2 separate regions of the Homo sapiens genome follow, and region 2 is linked to region 1. The links are contacts of gene promoters, found by promoter capture Hi-C in blood cells and fetal thymus (Javierre and others, 2016). All regions are on one chromosome and are shown on one strand. The core of a region is centred on a gene start or on the middle of the fragment in contact, and the rest is flanking DNA. Distances in the headings are between cores, read along the strand shown. Region 1 holds the start of LYSMD1 (LysM domain containing 1). Region 2 overlaps PRUNE1 (prune exopolyphosphatase 1).

The links. Contacts are between HindIII fragments. The CHiCAGO score rates a contact against its expected background, and 5 or more counts as called.
Region 2: a contact is called between a fragment that was not itself captured here and the fragment with the promoter of LYSMD1 in region 1, in 1 of 17 cell types (naive CD4 T cells). The highest score is 5.9, in naive CD4 T cells.

The regions. Positions count from the first base shown.
Region 1 is chr1:151,164,468-151,167,167 of GRCh38, forward strand. LYSMD1 (LysM domain containing 1) reads right to left here and starts at 1,435. Exons shown (of 3, transcript NM_212551.5): 1 at 612-1,435. The coding sequence starts at 791. It overlaps TNFAIP8L2-SCNM1 (TNFAIP8L2-SCNM1 readthrough), which reads left to right. Exons shown (of 7, transcript NR_144937.2): 2 at 2,004-2,074; 3 at 2,467-2,555; 4 at 2,654-2,700. It overlaps SCNM1 (sodium channel modifier 1), which reads left to right and starts at 1,677. Exons shown (of 7, transcript NM_024041.4): 1 at 1,677-1,736; 2 at 2,004-2,074; 3 at 2,467-2,555; 4 at 2,654-2,700. The coding sequence starts at 1,686. RefSeq lists enhancers at 917-1,622, 1,376-1,655, 1,623-2,329, 1,676-1,725. The HindIII fragment of the contact is 8,952 bases long and covers 1-2,700 here.
Region 2 is chr1:151,028,095-151,030,876 of GRCh38, forward strand. It overlaps PRUNE1 (prune exopolyphosphatase 1), which reads left to right. Exons shown (of 8, transcript NM_021222.3): 7 at 692-850. Among named protein-coding and RNA genes, the nearest start is that of BNIPL, 7.1 kb to the right of the region's middle. The HindIII fragment of the contact is 8,691 bases long and covers 1-2,782 here.

The sequences.
Region 1 (2,700 bases), core at 185-2,684:
TTACATCTATCCAATTTCCCCCATGCATGACCTGAAATACTTGGTGTAGAGTACCTGTTTTGCACAAAGGAGGCCACCTTACTGGAAAGAAGGCAGAGCATTGAGGAGGAACCAAGAGCAAGGAGAGGTGGGCACTTTAGGAACTGAGAACTAAAAATCAGCTCTCCATTAGTTGCTGTAAACGTTTAATCACTCTCAACATAAAATTTTCTGTGTGGTTAATAGAGTCAGACAGACCTGTTTGAATCCCAAATCTGACGCTCATTATTTGACCTTAGCCAAACTGGTTAACCAATCCAAGTCTCAGTTTCTTCATCTGCCAAAAGGGAACGATAAATGTATACTTGATACAGATGTGAGGGTGAAATGAGCTAACGTATGTGAAGCCCTCAGCACAGTGTCTGGCATAATAAAATAGGAGCTGTTCCTCTCCGTTGGAATAGTAGGGCAGGACTTGTGCAACACTGTGATGGGAAAACAAAGATAAAGGCAGAACAGAGTGCAACACATTAGGAACATTTCAGGGGAGGTTACCTAGAAGGGCCACTACATTCTTCTCAGGACTAAATCCCTCCTGACTGTTGTCTTCACCCCAATCCTGGAAAACTCACCGTCACCCCATATTTGAGTGCTAGTCCAGCCAGGGTGTCTCCGGGCTCCAACTGATGCTCCAGGCGTCTTTCCCTCACTGGGGAGCAGGCCGATTGCACCAGGCTTCCATATGAACGAGCCCGGCTCCCTTGAAGCAGTCCTGACCCCCCTGGCGGGGGCTGTCTAGACGGGGAAGCCATCTCTTCACCCTGCCAACAGCTAAGGTTGCAACTAGGGGAGGTACGACCGAGACTGCGACTGACAGGCCTGAAGTCTGGGAATGAATATTCAGGGGATTCCTTTCCCCCTCTCTCTTCCCCTGTGTCCCCGCCTCCCCAGCACTACGCCATCTGCCCCCTCCCGGTTTCTCCTCCCTCCAAGCTACTTATCCACAAATCTGTCCCTTGAGTATTCAGTCCCTCCCTAATTCTCCCCTAAGCACCCCTCCGACTTTGGACTCCCCCACAACTCCTCGCTACATTGACCTCTGACCTTTGAACTCTAGAAATAATCCTCAACACTCTTTCCTCAGTTTGCCCCCAAGTAGCCTGGCCTCAGGGCGCTCCAACATCCCAGCTCTCCCCGGTCCCGGGGTTTGTTTGCTAGAGTCAGGAACAAATCAGGCCCACCCCAGGTGAACTGTCGCCGCAGACGAAGAGCGTGAGGATTGCAAGAATTTGTAGTACACCTTCCACTCAGAGATCCTCAAAGGTCCGCTCCGCATAAGATAGGTCACACCCTCAAATTTCGGCTCCACATCTAGGTTGTTGTCCCTCCAAACGCCTCAGATCCGCCAAGATGCAAGGGCCTGGATCCAGTTGAGCGGCAAGGTCTTTGAGAAAAGACTTCATTTCCCAAAAGGCTCCGCGTCTGCGGAGTCGCAGGGCACCATAGGAAATGCAGTTCCCTCCGAGCACCAGAGAGTGGATTTCCGGATCGCGCAATGCATGCGTGGAAGTGCGTCCCCGGAAGTACGGAGGCCGACAGGAAGAGAAGGAAAAAAGAGAAGGCGCTGTCCCGCTCTTGCTACGGTGGCCTGGAGGAGTGGCGAAACCGGAACAGAGAATTTATCACTTCTGGGACTCACAGTCGTGATGTCTTTCAAGAGGGAAGGAGACGATTGGAGTCAACTCAATGTGCTCAAAGTAAGCGTGAGCGGAGAGGATCTGGAGCCGCTTCAGTCGCTCCCTGAAGGTTGGGAAGGAGCTTTGTTTCATTGCTCTGGCAACAACTCGGGGGTGCAGGAGAGAACCAGGCGACTTAGAGCTGTGTAGTGACTCCTTTTTCGGTCTATGATCGCTGTTCTCCCCAGGGTCCTTATTCCATTTCACTCCTCATTTCTATAATTTCACTTCCACCCCTCTCTCCTATCCCGCTGATCCCGTCCGGATTTCTTCCCCTACTCCCTGCAGAAAAGAAGAGTCGGGGACCTCCTAGCCAGTTACATTCCAGAGGATGAGGCGCTGATGCTTCGGGATGGACGGTAAGAGCAAGGAGTGGCTCAAGCCTGAGGGTTCTGCGGTTAGAGGCTCAATAGACTTTTTTTTTTTTTTCCTTTGAGACGGAGGTCTCGCGGTGCTGCCCAGGCTGCCCTCGAACTCTAGGGCTCAAGTGATCCTGCCTCCTCAGCGTCGCGATTAGCTGGGTTTACAAGCGCATGCCACCACGCCTGGCTTCAACAAACTTTTGTTATTAATTAGGACAGCAGGAGTACCTAGGATTCTTTGGCGGCCAGTGAGGACTGGAAGAAGTGGAGATTGGGTCACCAGGGAGTTGGGTTTTGCAAAGACTGCTAGGACAGGGTGGGACCTATGGCAGGGACGGGCCCAACCCTCTTCCCCTGGACCACTTATCCTCTTCTCTACCCCTGCTCAGCTTTGCTTGTGCCATCTGCCCCCATCGACCGGTACTGGACACCCTGGCCATGCTGACTGCCCACCGTGCAGGCAAGAAACATCTGTCCAGTAAGTTAGGGGGAAGACGGGATGGGGAATAAACCCTCGAAATCTCTGCACACCACTCTTGGTGCTATGCTTTTAATTCTGTTTCCCTTTCTCCTCAGGCTTGCAGCTTTTCTATGGCAAGAAGCAGCCGGGAAAGGAAAGAAAG
Region 2 (2,782 bases), core at 20-2,519, 140 kb before region 1:
CTTTTTTCTTTGTAAAGCTGGCTCCTTCTTAACATTCAGGTACTCAGCTCAGATGTCTCTTGTTTTGGGAGGTTTTTCCTGACCACCCTAACTGAAGTACTATCTCCTATGCTCAAAAAACCTCTAGCAGTTATGTATGTATGTTTGTTTGTTTGTTTGTTTTGAGCCTGAGTCTTATTCTGTTGCCCAGGATGGAGTGGAATGGCATGATCTCAGCTCACTGCAACCTCTGCCTCCCGGGTTCAAGTAATTCTCCTGCCTCAGCCTCCCTAGTAGCTGGGATTACTGGTGCGTGCCGGCATGCCCAGCTAATTTTTTGTTTTGTTTTGTTTTGTTTTTGTTTTTTGAGACGGAGTTTCGCTCTTGTCCCCCAGGCTGGAGTGCAATGGCGCAATCTCAGCTCACTGCAACTTCCGCCTCCCTGGTTCAAGCGATTCTCCTGCCTCAGCCTCCTGAGTAGCTGGGATTACAGGCATATGCCCCCATGCCCGGCTAATTTTTGTATTTTTACCAGAGACAGGGTTTCACCATGTTGGCTAGGCTGGTCTCGAACTCCTGACCTCAAGTGATCACCTGCCTCGGCCTCCCAAAGTGCTAGGATTATAGGCGTAAGCGACCGTGCCCGGCCCAAGGATGTTTTATTGATGATGATGAGAAAGTCCTTCATCCCTCTCCGTTTCTTCCCTTTCAGGCCTTTCTGCAGAGGTCTAACCTCCTTGCAGATCTCCATGCTTTCTGCCAGGCTCACAGCTATGATGTCCTGGTTGCCATGACTATCTTTTTCAACACTCACAATGAGCCAGTGCGGCAGTTGGCTATTTTCTGTCCCCATGTGGCACTCCAAACAACGGTGAGTCTGTGTCCCTTCTCCAACCTAAGAGCCTTACAGAGTCTGCCTGTATGTACCTCTGTGCTCTACAGCTGTCCTATAAGGACCTCTCTTAGGTTCTTATATTAATGTACTTACATGAGGTCCCTTGACCTGTTTCTGGACCTGTTTCCTCCCCTTTCTGCTTTTTCCCATTCTCTCTCTATATGAATATCCTTTTTTTTTTTTTAATGAACATCCTTAATCATAGCATTGTTGAGAAAGGGGGAATTCCAAAGAGAACTAGAGATTCAATTCCTACTTTGAAAGAACGAAATCTAGTTAGAAGGAAATGTTATAAATCCGGAGTTAAAATTCCCTTCTTGAGCTAGGGACAGTGGCACGTGCCTGTAGTCCCAGCAACTCGGGAGGCTGATGCAGAAGGATTGCTTAAGCTGGAAAGTTTTTTTTTTTTTTTTTTTTTTGAGACAGTCTTGTGCTGTTGCCCAGGCTGGGGTGCAGTGGCACAATCTCGGCTCACTGCAAGCTCTGCCTCCTGGGTTAACGCCATTGTCCTGCCTCAGCCTCCCGAGTAGCTGGGACTACAGGCGCCCGCCACCACGCCCGGCTAATTTTTTGTATTTTTAGTAGAGACGGGGTTTCACCGTGTTAGCCAGGATAGTCTCGATCTCCTGACCTCGTGATCCGCCCGCCTTGGCCTCCCAAAGTGCTGGGATTACAGGCGTGAGCCACCGCGCCCAGCCGAGCTGGAAAGTTTGAGTCCAGCCTGGGCAAAGATAGCAAGACCTCATCTCTGTTGGGGAAAAAAAAAAACAAAAACTCTATTCTTGGTTTAATCATTAATTCCTCACCCCTGGAATTATGCTGTTGCCTTGAAAATTAGAAATACGAGAGACCTTTTCTGCTACTTACTATGCAGGGATTAATTATTCTGTATAGTGCAAACTCTGTAAAGAAGTGATCTAGATCCAGATTTGGCTATCTTTCCTACTTCCTCCCCCTTCTGTTCCTCTGCTGGTTACTGATTAGCCTAGGGAAGAATTTAAAAGTGGGCTTAAGGCTGGGTGCGGTGGCTCACACCTGTAATCCCAGCACTTTGGGAAGCTGAGGCGGGCAGATCACGAGAGCAAGAGATCAAGACCATCCTGGCCAACATGGTGAAACCCCATCTCTTTTAAAAATACGGAAATTAGCTGGGCGTGGTGGTGCGTGCCTATAGTCCCAGCTACTCAGGAGGCTGAGGCAGGAGAATCTCTTGAACCTCGGCAAGCAGAGGTTGCAGTGAGCCGAGATTGCGCCACTGTACTCCATCCTGCCAACAGAGCAAGACTCCGTCTCCAAAAAAAAAAAAAAAAAAGGTGGGCTTAAGGCAGTTCAGGGATTCTGAGGGTTGCCTAGGCTCTGTGAGGACTGCTAAAGACAGAATACAGCCAGATAATCCTTTGCTCTCATAGAAGGTATGTCTGTCCTTTCCCGCCCCCCTTTGCCTTTGCCTTCTCCCCAGGAAGCAAATCTGATTTCATTCAGTGTAAGGTAGTTCGTCATTATGAAAAGAACTGCAGTTTTGTCTGTTTGTTTGTTTTTTAAGATGGAGTCTCACTCTGTCGCCCAGGCTTGAGTACAGTGGTGTGATCTTGGCTCACTGCAACCGCCACCTCCCAGGTTCAGTCAGTTCTCCCACCTCAGCCTGTAGCTGGGACTACAGGCGCCTGCCACCATGCCTGACTAATTTTTGTATTTTTAGTAGAGATGGGGTTTCACCATGTTAGCCAGGCAGGTCTCGAACTCCTGACCTCAAGTGATCCACCTGCCTTGGCCTTCCGAAGTGCTGGAATTACAAGCCTGAGCCACTGCACCTGGCCAAGAACTGCAGTTTTTAAAGTCAGGTAGATGTGCTTTTCTGTTCTAGGTTTGCCTCTTACTCACTCTTTGAGCTAAGGCAAGTCAGTTGAC